Linked DNA regions of Homo sapiens: region 1 is linked to region 2. The links are contacts of gene promoters, found by promoter capture Hi-C in human tissues and cell types (Jung and others, 2019). All regions are on one chromosome and are shown on one strand. Each heading gives the region's core, a stretch centred on a gene start or on the middle of the fragment in contact. The rest is flanking DNA. Distances are from core to core; before and after follow the strand shown.

The links. The method cuts DNA at HindIII sites, captures the fragments that hold promoters and counts their contacts. A contact is called where the count stands out against the background at its distance.
Region 1: a contact is called between a fragment that was not itself captured here and the fragment with the promoter of FMO4 in region 2, in 1 of the 25 tissues and cell types used here (H1 embryonic stem cells).

What each region holds. Positions count from the first base shown.
Region 1 is chr1:171,162,766-171,169,506 of GRCh38, reverse strand. It overlaps FMO1-AS1 (FMO1 antisense RNA 1), which reads left to right. Exons shown (of 5, transcript XR_922278.4): 3 at 1,319-1,403. Among named protein-coding and RNA genes, the nearest start is that of FMO2, 19 kb to the left of the region's middle. The HindIII fragment of the contact is 5,651 bases long and covers 1-4,398 here.
Region 2 is chr1:171,309,735-171,316,534 of GRCh38, reverse strand. FMO4 (flavin containing dimethylaniline monoxygenase 4) reads right to left here and starts at 2,352. Exons shown (of 10, transcript NM_002022.3): 1 at 2,122-2,352; 2 at 208-349. The HindIII fragment of the contact is 8,197 bases long and covers 1-4,727 here.

The sequences.
Region 1 (6,741 bases), core at 324-2,823, 150 kb after region 2:
GCGATGCCCCAAACTGGGCCTTGCTCAGCCCCAGGCCTGCTGCAGGAGGTACTCTGCCCATTTGCACACTAGCTCACCCCATGACTGGCCCAGGAGTGCCCCAGCCCACCTGTGTTACAGCTCATACCTATGTTCAGCAATTCTTGTGTTCTTGTCCTGAATCCAAGAGAAGTGAGGTTACACTGACAATTGAAGGGTGAGAAGGGCAGAGAAGAGCTTTATTAAGTGACAGAACAGCTCTCAGCAAAGAGGGGCCATGAGGGTGATCCACCACATGAAGTTGGGTGGTCTCCCCTTCAGTGTGGCTGGGTCCGGGGCTTTTATGGGCTCAGAATGGGGGAGTGGTGATTGGTTTGTGAGTACGCAGAAAAGGTTAAAACAAAGGCACAACTCAGTGGGCATGGCAGTGTAAAAAACCAATTAGGGAAGGGTAGGTATATATAAAATAGGTGAAGGGTAGGGATCATTCAGAGGAAAGTGCACCAAATGGGAAGAGAGGTTCTCAATCCAGTCTGTGGATTTGACTTGTAGCTTGGCTTTCAGGCTTTAAACTGTCTTTGGCTTGAAGGTGGGGTTTCACCAGGGACCTGCCCCTGTCTGCCTAGGCATTTGCCTGCCTCTTGCGGATATCATTGTATTGTATACTAGAAATTTGCTAAGAGAGTAGATTTTTGGTGCTCTTACCATACACACACACACCAATTAGGGAAGGGTGAGATGATGGATATATTAATTGCCTTGACTGTAGTAATCATTTCAACATGTATATGTAAGGATAGGTATGGGCAAAGAGGAATGAAGACAATGGTCCCCAGGAAAAGCCACTGTGCAGAAAGAATAAAGATAAATAACAAAGAGCAGGAGTTGCCCAAGGCTATGGTGGTAGAGATGTGTGTGGGGTGATGGAAGGTATCTGTGACCAGGGGAACAGCAGGAATTGGAGCAAAGAGGTGAGGATCATTATGGTATGAGTTTAGGAAATATCACCAGTCCAATACTACCAGAGTATTAAGAGGGAGCAAGGAAGAGGTAAAAATGAGAAAGAGTAGAGCCAGATGGTAGAGGGCCTCATTTGCTCTTGAGCTTGGGCATTATCCAAAAGGTGATGAGAAGCCTTTGAAGGATTTTGAGCAGGGCGTGCTATGGCCAGACTTGCAGCAGAGTTGAGGATAGATGGGGAAGTGGCAGGACATTATCACAACCTATGGTCCTCTCTTTCCAGATCTCAGCATTGATCTGGGTGATGCATTATGAAAAAATTACATGCATTACCTGGGGACTTTTGCGATTCCATTATTCTTCCCTTTCTCATGTACAGGGCAAAGCGGCTGAGATCTTTGAACTCCCTTTGAACTTTGAGAATGGTGACTGGAAGATGACAATTCATGTTGTTTTCAGGAAAGGTAAGGAGAAGTTCACAACCTGCGCTCAACCTTTTGTTGGCTTATCCACAACTGTGTATTCTGGTAAAGTGCATTCTAATTAGTATATACCTCATTAGTCACAGCCCTCTCTGGCAATAGCACAATTAATATTGTTATATAATGCACAAACACAGTCATCTGAACACAGGGAGTGGTAACATGACACACAGGACCAAGTAGTGTCATTGAGAAAGCAGAAAAATATTTTGCAGTTGAGACTAAAATTCATACACAAAATCTTTCATTTTTCTCTTGTCTTCACAAGGTTCACCAATCAGGCATCTTGTAGGTGCTTTCTAGACTAAATGGTACCTATTTAAAAAATTATTTTCTTACATATAAAACTAGTCATGTATGAAAATGTCTTCAATGAAAAAACTCAAACAATGCGAAAGTATGTAGAAACAAAAGTGCGGTTCCTACTCCTTCCTCCCATTTCCAGCCCCAGTCTAATCTTCAGAGAAAACTACTGATGACAATTGGCTTTCAGACATTTCCTTCTGTGTAAAAATAACATTTATATACACAGATACTAGACTTTACATAAATGAAGAAATATTGTTTACTTTGTTACTTGCTTTTTTCATTAAACAATATATTTTGAAAAGAGTTCCATGTCAGTATATATACGTTGATCTCCTATATTTTACTGTATGTTATTTTATACTATTATAGATATTTGAATTGTTTCCAGGTTTTCATGATTATAAACGAGACTGCAATGATTTTCCTTGTTCATCCATCTTTGTGCTTTAATGCAAAAATATCCATATAACAGATTCCTACAAATAATTATTCCTTTTTAAATATTCTAATAAGTTATGAAGACTCCTGTTTGGAATCAGTTCAGTGTTTTGCTTTGAGTTTTTGAGCAGGTAGCTGTGACTCCCCCATTTGAACCTCTTTCTATCTCACAGGGCTGGTGTTCGCCACTGTGAATGAATGGTGGCTGTACTGGGTAAATGCCAGAGGCAGTCAGTTATCTGAAGGCTGCTCCAGAGGGTAATGAATGAATTTTGTGTCCAAAGAGGTGTTAAAGAGGAGGCTGGATATTGTAGAAAGAACACAAGTATCAACCAAGGGTTAAATTAGGAGATCTTTAAACTCCCTCTGAACCCTGAGAATGGTGGCTGGAAGATGGCAATACATATTGTTTCCAGAGAAGGTAAGGAGAAGTGGAGGTTCTTCGGCTGAAATCTGCCCTTACTGAGTTTTCTCCAGCCCATCTAAGACCTACAAATCTTTTTTTAAAAGTTGTTGCTAAACATTAAAAATCCAGAAAATAACAGATGGAAATATCAATACAAGGCTTCTCTAAAAAGTTTAGAAAATCTGGTTGTCCTGGGCCTGCAAATATTTTTGCGGAAGTAAAGGATGATTTCTCTTTGTTTAATGTGCCAACAGAATGATTAATATGCAATCTATCTGCTTTACTCACTTATTTTTTCAGTCTAGTCTCAAAAGTATCTGGATTTGGATGTCTCATATTGGCCAAAGCCTAATGGAGCTTAAGGATTTTCTTAATACATTAAGAAGGCAGGTATAGAATATGAGTCAGTTCTTAGCTGCGAAACTCATTTGATGATTAGTTGGGTGGGGTGGTGATGAATCTGTGATATATTAGTAAACCAAATACCTGAAGATTACATTGTCTTATTTCAGAGAGGAGAAATTAACAAATGTAGTCATAAAGGCTCTGGTTATACTTCTTTTATTATAAGAAAAGGTAATCTGTGAAGCTATCTACACCTTATTAAATCTAAGGACAGGGCAGTTGAAGGCACCTAGATCACTGCAGTTCAATGTAAGATGTAAATTTTAAAGATATGCATAGAAATTTCAGCTATCATTTCCTTGTGGCTTAAATTTCAGCTATCATTTCCTTGTGGCTTCATTTTTTAATCTAATTATTCATTTTACCTTCAAGTACTTTTTACTAAAAAGCCATATTATGACACTGCATCCAGATATACAGTTGTTAATTATCAATGTATTATAATCATCAACATAATGTATAAACCAGATTGTGGTTTATATCCTTAAAGAGACTGGTATATACAGAGCAAGGTGCCATGTCTAAGGGCCTGCCTTTTGATCTGTGTAGCTGCCCTTTTCCTCTCCTGCATTCCAAACCCCTGTCTCTTAAAAAAAAAACCCTGTGTTCCTCCCACAAATTGAAGAGTGGAAATTTTGGGAAAGAATTCTGCCCACTCTTTTCCTTGCTAACACAGATGATAAAACTCACTCTTTCTCTGTCACATCTCGCTCTTGTTATGTTGGCATCTTTCTAAAAGTGGCAAGCAGCAGGACCCTTTTGCCAGTTACACATTTTGTGTTGCTATAAAGAAATACCTGAGACTGGGTAATTTATAAAGAAAAGAGGTTTATTTTGGTTCATCATTCTGCAGACAGTACAAGAAGCATGGTGCCGACATCTGCTTCTGGTGAGGCCTCAAGATGCTTGCAATCATGGCAGAAGGTGAAGGGGGAGCAGGCATGTCACATGGTGTGAAAGGGAGCACGAGAATTGAAGCAAGAGAGAGGAGAGGAGGTGCCAGTCTCTTTTAAACAACTATAATAGCTCTCGTGAACTAATAGAGTGAGAACTCACTCATTACCCTGGGGAGGGCACCAAGCCATTTATGAGAGAATCACTTCCCACAAGGCCCCACTTCCAACACTGGGGATCACATTTCAACATGAGATTTGGAGGGGACACACATCTGAGTCATAGCACCTGGCTAATTTTTTAATTTTAATTTTTTTGTAGGACAAGGTTTTGCTATGTTGCTTAGGCTGGTCTCAAACTCCTGTGCTTAAGCAATCTTTGTGCCTGGGCCTCCTAAAATGCTGGGATTCCAGGCATAAACTACTACTCTTAACCCTTTTTTAAAAATATGCTAATTTATGCTAGGATTTTAGAGGCAAAGTAAAACATTAAAAATATGGTTTCTTCTGTGTCTGATGATGCAAAACATAGTAGTTTCTTAACTGTGAGATTTGCTATTAATCTGACTGAAAAGCTGATTGTCTTTGGGAATCAACTGGTAAAAGGGTTTTATTTAGTTAGTTTATTAATGAATTTGTCTGGTATAGTCCTTACACTAGATTCAATTACAGATTGTATATACACACAAACATAGATTTCACAGATGAGCAGGCTACCCAATCAGTAGAATGAGGTGCATGAGTTAGCTTTGAGTTAGCATGCTCCCTCGCCTTTTGTCACTCCTTAACGGCTCTTTGTTCTCACTTTATTTTGCATGGTTGGTAAAGATGATGGGAAGGACCACACTTATGTCTACTTACTACACAGGACCAAATACACAGAGGTTATAAGCAACATTCCATCAAGTTTAATTTAGTGCAAATTAATATTATCCATATGATTGAATAAAATATCAAGAAGTCTGAATTACAAAAAAGTTTCTAGTTGGCTCAAATAAACTAAGTCTGAAGGGCTCAGCAGTCCATTTAGCCAACTTTCACTACAGTCTTTGTTGAGGAGAACATCCCTCTAGTACTAGGTCTGAGGAGGGAATGAGATTCTCACACCCTGAAACATGTTCCAGAAAAGAGACCCCCACTCAAAATATTATTTTTCTTGTTCTTCCCAAGTGTCTCTCTCCAAGATTCCAGATTAGTCTTCATTGGTAGTCCCCAGATTGAACAGAGGACTCAGAAATATGTGCATAGGATATTTGGAAAATCAGCTTATAATTCTTACAGACTCTTTCTGTTACACAATCTAGCATCATACTAAACACAACACAACACTAGCATGTGTGTACACATACACATGTACACAAGAATACTTTGGAGACACATCTGGTTTGAACCAATTTTGATTACTAGGATAAATTATACATATTCTAAAAACAAATTGAGATAGTTTGGTATACATTTTTCTTTTCAAGTCTGAACTTTTTCTACTATGACTTATCCATCTCTCCAATTAGACAAATTGAGTTAGAATATTCATCCTGCTTTTATTAGATACAAATAATGTGGATGTCATAAGTATCAATGTACTTACTGTATTCTTTCCTAAAGGAATATTAGAACTGTTCTTTTTTTTTATTATACTTTAAGTTTTAGGGTACATGTGCACATTGTGCAGGTTAGTTACATATGTATACATGTGTCATGCTGGTGCGCTGCACCCACTAACTCGTCATTTAGCATTAGGTATATCTCCCAATGCTATCCCTCCCCCCTCCCCCTACCCCACAACAGTCCCCAGAGTGTGATATTCCCCTTCCTGTGTCCATGTGATCTCATTGTTCAATTCCCACCTGTGAGTGAGAATATGCTAGAACTGTTCTTAATTTTGATGAAGTTCAATTTACACAATTTTAAAAATGAATATTGTGCATTTAGTATTGTATCTAAGACATTTTTGCCTAACCCAAAGATTTTCTTTTTCATTTTCTGCTAGAAGTTTTAGGGTTTTAGTTCTATAATCCTCTTTCAGTTACTTTTTGTATATAGTACAAAGTATTGACTGAAGTTTTTTTTTTTCCATATTGCATGATATCCAATGGTTCCAACATCATTTGTTGAAAAGACTCTCCTGTCTTTACTGAATTTTCACCTTTGTCCATATTGTGTGGTTCTATTTCCAGACATTCCATTCTTTTTTATTGACCTATTGTTTATCTTCACACCATAACATACTGACTTGATTACTGTAGCTTCATAAAATAAGAAATTCTGAAATCAGAAGTCAGGTAGTGTTAATGCTCCACATTTGTTTTTTCTTTTGAAATGGAGTTTGGCTCTTGTTGCCCAGACTGGAGTGCAATGGCACAATCTCGGCTCACTGCAACCTCCGCCTCAAGCGATTCTCCTGTCTCAGCCTCCCGAGTAGCTGGGATTACAGGCATGCACCACCACGTCTGGCTAATTTTGTATTTTTAGTAGAGATGGGGTTTCTCCATGTTGGCCAGGCTGGTCTCGAACTCCTGACCTCAGGTGATCCGCCTGCCTCAGCTTCCCGAAATACTGGGATTACTGGCGTGAGCCTTTGTGCCCGGCCTTTTCAAAGTTATTTTTTAACAATTCTAGGTCCTTTAAATACCTTATACATTTTAGAATCAGTTTTCAATTTCTATAAAAAAGCATGTTAGGGGGTTGATTAGTATTGCATTGAAATTATGGATCAACTTGAGGATAATTGACATCACCACAATATCGGTGGTTCAACCCAGGATATAGTGTATCTCTCCATTTATTTAGACCTTTAATTACTCTCAGCTATGTTTTTTAGCTTTCAGTGTATGGTTTTTACCTTTCTTATGCTGGCTTATCCTAAATA
Region 2 (6,800 bases), core at 1,103-3,602:
TAATAAAAATATCTATGTTGAAGGATTGTTTGCATTTTAAAAAACTTGATATTACTTACACAAAAAAGTGCCTTGCACAAAATATTTACTCAGTGTTCATTCTCTACCTCCCTACTTGTCTCCTGTCTTCCTTCTCTTCTCCTTGGAAAAGACAGTTCATACAGATAAAATGTATCAACAAGTTTGGAAAGGAGTAGGCAGACATACCTGTGTTTTCCTTTGAGTTGAGGAGTAGGAGGTTTAGACAGCTTCTAATCAGAAACAAATGGCCTCCACCAATAAGAATACTTGAATTTCCAGGCCACTAGGTAGAGGCCTGGGGCTGGCAGATCTTTGCTGTGCTCTATCTCTGCAATCATAAGGTAAAAAGAAATGACTGCTAACTGAATTGCCAAAGTGAAAAATATACTGACGTGAATAGACTGGAAGCAAATTAATTCATTCAACAAATATGCCCTGGGTACCTCTAAGTGCAGGTCCTAAGCTAAGTATGGGGCCCTGAAGATAATGAAGACCCTGCAACTAAGAAATAGTAGTAAAGTCTTAGAATTTAAAAAAGACCGTGACTGCTCTTAAGATGTTGTATATGGAGAGGCTGATACTACCTTGTGCTAAGTCCTATGGTAGCAGCATGCTCTAGGCATGAATGCTTGCACTCTCCTGGCCTGTTTATTATCCCTGTCTAGAGACCTAGTTAGTGACACAGAGTGGCCTGTGGGGTTAAAAACGTGCTGGGCAAAAGCACTTTAAGGACTGACTTAGAGACTCTACAGGCAGTAGAAACAAATTGGGAATTAGCACCTTTTAAAATTAATCCGTATTTACAGACTATAAATTTCTGAATGGGAGCAACCTTTTTAAATTTTGCCTTGAGTCAGTAGAGGAAGGTAGTGAGTGAACTGGAAATTGAGAGATCTGAGTTCTAGTTCTGCTTCTGCCTCTAAGCAGCTTGTAACCCTGGACACAATTCTCAATTTCTCTGAGCCAGTGCTTCCACATTTGTAAAACAGAGGGTTCAAGTGGCTTTCTCTTTGTTTCCTTCAAGCTTGAAAGGACTGTTCTTATGTCTGAAAACCAAGTAATTGGTGCACAAAAAAAAAAAGATATGAATTCAAAGGTAGGCGAGAATACTGCAGGCTTGAAGGATTGGGAGAACGTGTGTGCAAACTCTGCAAACTATAAAGTGGACTTCATAAGGTACTTGGTTGCTCAAAGGTGCTTATATTTATTTATTTATTTATTTGAGTTGGAGTCTCACTCTGTCTTCCAGGCTGGAATGCAGTGGCACAATTTCGGCTCACTGCAACCTCCACCTCCTGGGTTCAAGTGATTCTCCTGCCTCAGCCTCCTGAGTAGCTGAGACTACAGGCAGGCGGCACCACGCCTGGATAATTTTTGTATTTTTAGTAGAGACGGGGTTTCACCATGTTGGTCAGGCTGGTCTCAAACTCCTGATCTCAAGTGGTCTGCCCTCCTCGGCTTTCCAAAGTGCTGGGATTACAGGCGTGAGCCACCGTGCCAGCCATAGGTTGCTTATATTTAGTCCCTTGGCAGAAAGGAGACCTGACCTATTGAACTAGACCTTTGTACAACGGGAAAACCCCACCCTATACCTGACTGACCAGCAAATGTAGGAATCCTTTATGAGACATGGAGAGACTTGGGTGATTTGCAAATCATGTAATCAATTATGATTTCTTTGAATTTGAAATTTGATCATTTTATGTTTCTTATCATCATCCTACCATGCTCTTGCTTTGTTACAGTATTTTTTTCCCACGCCATCTATGGGGTATTTGTTTCCCAATGGCTGGCATTTCCATCTCATTCATAAGATGAAATCAGAGGTCACTGGAGTCACTGAAAGTCTCATGATTCTGTTTATCTCACTGACACTTTCCTTTTGGATGGTTCTGTCCACAACATAACTTTGTTTCCTTACAACTTCCCTTTGCTTCCTGACTCTCTCCTTAATTCTCTTGCTTTAGCCCTAGTCAAGAGACCCCAAAAGAAGATAATCACATTCATTCTTAAGGAACACACTCCAAGAAAAACATTCATCTTTTGTGAAAGCAGTTTCTGGATCATTTCCCCATTAAAAAAAAAATCCAGGACACTTACCTTGGTTAGCATAGAGCAGATTCTTTGACTTAAATTATTTCTCAAAGTCAAGGAAAGTGTTTGTCTTTTTTTTTTAAAAAAGCTCAAAACCCAAATTCTTTTTTCTGAAAGAAAAATAAATGGAAAGATGACTTTTGTAAAAGTGCCCTCAGTTTAAAACAAAAGCCATTCGTCTTTTCTGTTATGCTAGTGACAGCAGAAAGTATACAGACTAAGGAAAAAAAGTTGTGTAAGAGGCAAGCGTGATACTTCCGTGATCTTAAGGGAGGGCGGAATGGTGAGTTAGAATACAGCTGTTGGATTGGCAGAACATAAACGCTTCCTGCCCCTTTACCCCACCCTCCTCAACGTCATAGTTCTGGCAAAGCCCTAAAGCTATGGGAAGCACATGATAGCGTCGCTTTTGCCATTATAGTCTGTAGAGGGCGCCAAATCACCCCAAATTACAGCTTTCTCAGCGAAACAGGAGTTCTACTTTTGGAAACAAACTTCTACACCCTGACTCTTGCTTGGATTACCATAGGAGCTGTCCAAAGGAGAAAGTTATTTAGATGACCATTACCTCATCAAGTTCTTTCATGCTTGGAGTTCTCCAACCCCAGAAATGTGATTTTAAAGTTCAGGACTTACAAGGAATTTAAGCTGTTTTGTCCTTCAGATTGGATCAGCAGAGGGAGCTGGTGAAATGTGTTTGAGAAAGCATAAAGCTATTTTTAGATATTAACCTAGGGCACAAGAAAGGTAATAATTATAGAAGCTGTGGCAGAAATAGAAAACTTAACTGTTTTTCCTTCCACTGTGTGCTTGTAAGATAATATAACAGACCATCTTTAGGACTTGTGTTTAGGGACATTTTCCAACATGGTTCACTGAACAATTTCTAAACCACATTTGCTTGTGACTACACATGCAAATGCCTACAGGAGTGAGGAGGGTAACATACACGAGGAAAGTGGGCCAGATATGATCTGACTGGAAAGTACTTTCTCTGTCTATTCAGTTCAGCTAAATGTTGCTATTTGAGAAAATGAGCCCAATATGGCAAGGCCTTAGGTTCTTTTCAGTAAAAGCTGCAAATACAGATTTTAATATAAAATCTTCTGTTGGCAGCAAATATTTTCTTTTGAAAAATATCATGGAATATTATGCAGCCATAAAAAGAAATAAGATCATGTCCTTTGCAGGGACATGGATGAAGCTGGAAGCCATCATCCTCAGCAAACTAACACAGGAACAGAAAACCAAACACTGCATGTTCTCACTCATAAGTGGGAGTTGAACAATGAGAACACATGGACACAGAGAGGGGAATGTTGTAGGGCCTGTTGTAGGGTAGGGGGTGAGGAGAGGGAACTTAGAGGAGAACAGGTCAATAGGTGCAGCAAATCACCATGGCACACGTGTACCTATGCAACAAACCTGCACGTTCTGCACATGCATCCCACTTTTTTTTAGAAGAAATAAAGAAAAAAATTTAAAAAAAGAAAAAAAAATATTGTGTCCAGAGTTAGTTCCTTCCGGTGGGTTCCTGGTCTCCCTGACTTCAAGAATGGAGCTGCGGACCTTTGTGGTGAGTGTTACAGTTCTTAAAAGATGGCACAGACCCAAAGAGTGAGCAGCAGCAAGATTTATTGTGAAGAGCGAAAGAACAAAGCTTCCACAGAGTGGAAGGGGACCCGAGCCAGTTGCTGCCGCTGGCTGGGGTGGCCAGCTTTCTCTTATTTGTCCCCTCCCATGTCCTGTTTCTGTCTTATCAGAATGCCCTTTTCTCAATTCTCCCCACGATTGGTTACTTTTAGAATCCTGCTGATTGATCCATTTTACAGAGCGCTGATTGGTCCATTTTACAGAGCACTGATTGGTCCATTTTACAGAGAACTGATTGGTGCATTTTACAAACTTCTTGCTAGCTACAGAGCACTGATTGGTGCATTTTACAATCCTCTTGTAAGACAGAAAAGTTCTCCAAGTCTCTACTCGACCCAGGAAGTCCAGCTGGCTTCACCTCTCAATACCCCCTTTAAACAGGACACCCCAACTGCTTTTGAGAATTGCGCAATGACTGCTCTAGCTACTTCCTGCTGGATAGGGGTGAAGAAGAGACCCTGAATTGTAGTATCCTCCAGAGGGAAACTCTCTAGGTATCAAAGGGCCAGTGGGTCGATCCAGGGGGTCCTTGGTAGAAGTTGTTAGTTGAGCTCATTTGGGGTTTAATTTGCAAAACCATCTGTAGCTTGATGGCCTCGATCCTGGAGGAAACAAATTGACAAAGAGCTTAAAAATACAGGGCCCGAAGGCAAGTAATAGCAAGATGGTTGTCATGAGACCTAGAAAGGGGAGAAGCCATGTTGCCCAACTCCAGAGAATGGTATAAGAATTTGAAAGGCATTGTCTGATTTCAGAAGACTTTTCCTGTAAATGCCGGGTGGCGTCTCATATTAACCCTGACTGGTTAGTGTAAAAGCAACACTCGTCCCCTAAGAAGGTGCAAAGTCCTCCTTTCTCAGCAGTGAGGAGGTTAGGCCTCAGTGGTTTTAGAGAGTCACTGCTGCCAAAGAGTCTATTTGGGATTGTAGAGTAAGGATAGATTTTGTTCTTTCTTGCAAACTGCCTGAGAAATGCTTTGAGAGTGTGTGGTAGTAGGATAATGAAGTGGATAAATCTGCTATTCCGGTTCCTGTAGCAGTGGCCATTCCTAACCCTATAAGTAGGGGTATTAGTTGTATGGCCCTGTGCTGATGGACTTGTGCTTTGAGGAGCACTGATAGGGTCTGGGCAATGTTTATATTGGGACTTAGGAAGACTAAGGTGCAGGTGCCTGTCCAGTTGGTGGGGAGGCAGATATAGGTTGACATTCCATGTAAGAAGAATACGTCTTGGCTGGGTAGACAGAACTGGTTGTGTACGTTAAAAAGGTGTGTGAGTTTGTTGTTTTCATTTTCCCATACTCCTAGAGTACGTGCCAAGGTGGCTCCGGTGAGTGGCTGGAAAGGGGTGTTGGGAGCAAACTGAGTGGCTCCCTGTGCTCTATCTTCCCATTGGGGGAAAAAGCCGTTTTGTATCTACTAGGAACCATTCAATAGATTAATTGAAAGAGGGGATGAGGAGGCATTCACTAGTGGTGGGGGCACTGCTGCAGGGGGTCCAGGGGTGAATGGTCATGCAGGGAGTATGTTTGCTATTAAAAAACCCAGACTGTTTGTTAAGCAGGGAGGAGGTGATGATTTTTGGAGGCTCTGAGAAGTGGACAAGCCATCTGAGTGGAGCTGTTTGGGTGACTCGGAAGTTACTATAATCAGTTCGGGCTTGAAGTTGTAGGATGTAATTACACTGATGGGATAATAGGTCCCCCAGGGGCAGGCCTGATAACGGGTTGTGTTGGATGCATAGAGGGGCTTGGAAAGTTAAGATGGTATTCATGGTTATAGGGATTTGCCTTCTCAACCTTCCCTAAGGATTGTGGCCTCCAGGCGCAGTGGAGGTAATATGATATCCCTAGCACCCTGGAAATTCCCTGTTACCGTGGCTTTAAAAGCCAGACCATTGTCACTTTGTAAGCTTTGGGGAAGCCCAAATCTAGGAATTATTTCATGCATTAGGACTTTAACCACTTCCTGAGCCTTCTCTGTCTTGCAGGGGAAGGCTTCTATCCAATTTGTAAAGGTTTCAACACAGACCAACAAGTGTTGAAATCCCTTAGACTTAGGCATATGGGTGAAGTCTAACTGCCAGTCCTCTCTGGGATTGTGCCCTATTCTTTGTTCCCCCAGAGGGGCCTTATGATGGACCAAGGGATTATTCCTTTGGCACACCTCACAGGCTTTGACTACTTGTTGGATGGTCCAGAGGAGATTTGGACCCGTAAATAGAGATTTAGCCATTTGATGAGTGTTCTCAATACCCATATGAAAAGTTTGGTGGAGGGTCTTAAGTATTTTCCACTGTCTGGCTTCAGGTATGAGTACCTTTCCCTCTTCCGTAGTGAACCACCCTGAGGGGAGAAAACTATGCCCCCGTGAAAGTCCCCATTCTGTTTAAGTTGGGAAATACTGGGGCTTAATCTCTTGGAGAGGGTTGTTCCATACCAGTGGCCCTTCTACAGGTATTTCTAATGGTAGGTTCCACCTGGCAGCAATTTTGGCCTCAGCATCTGCCCGACAGTTTCCTTCTGCCTTTTCTCCTTCACCTTTTTGATGGCTTTGGCAGTGTAAGACTGCCATCTCCTTAGGTTTTTGCACCACATGCAATAACTTAATGATTTCCTTGTGGTATTTAATGGGGGTTCACCCAGAGGTTATGAACTCCCTTTCTTCCCACATTGCAGCATGGGCATGTAGGATTAGATAAGCATATTTGCTATTTGTATACACATTTATTCTTTTTCCCTTTCCCAGTTCTAAGGCTTGGGTAAGTGCCACTAGTTCTGCTAACAGTGCTGGTCCCTGGAGGAAGATGCTTACTTTCAAGTACTGTTACATCATTAACTATGGCATAACCTGCCCTTCGTATCCCATTCTCCACAAATGAACTTCCATTGGTATATAGGTTAAGGTCAGGATTAGCTAAGGGGACTTCTAAGAGATCCTCTCAGGTGACATAAGTCTGGGCTACAATTTGTTGGTAGTCATGCTTGATTGGCTCTCCATCCTCTGGGAGAAAAATAGCAGGGTTGAGGGCCA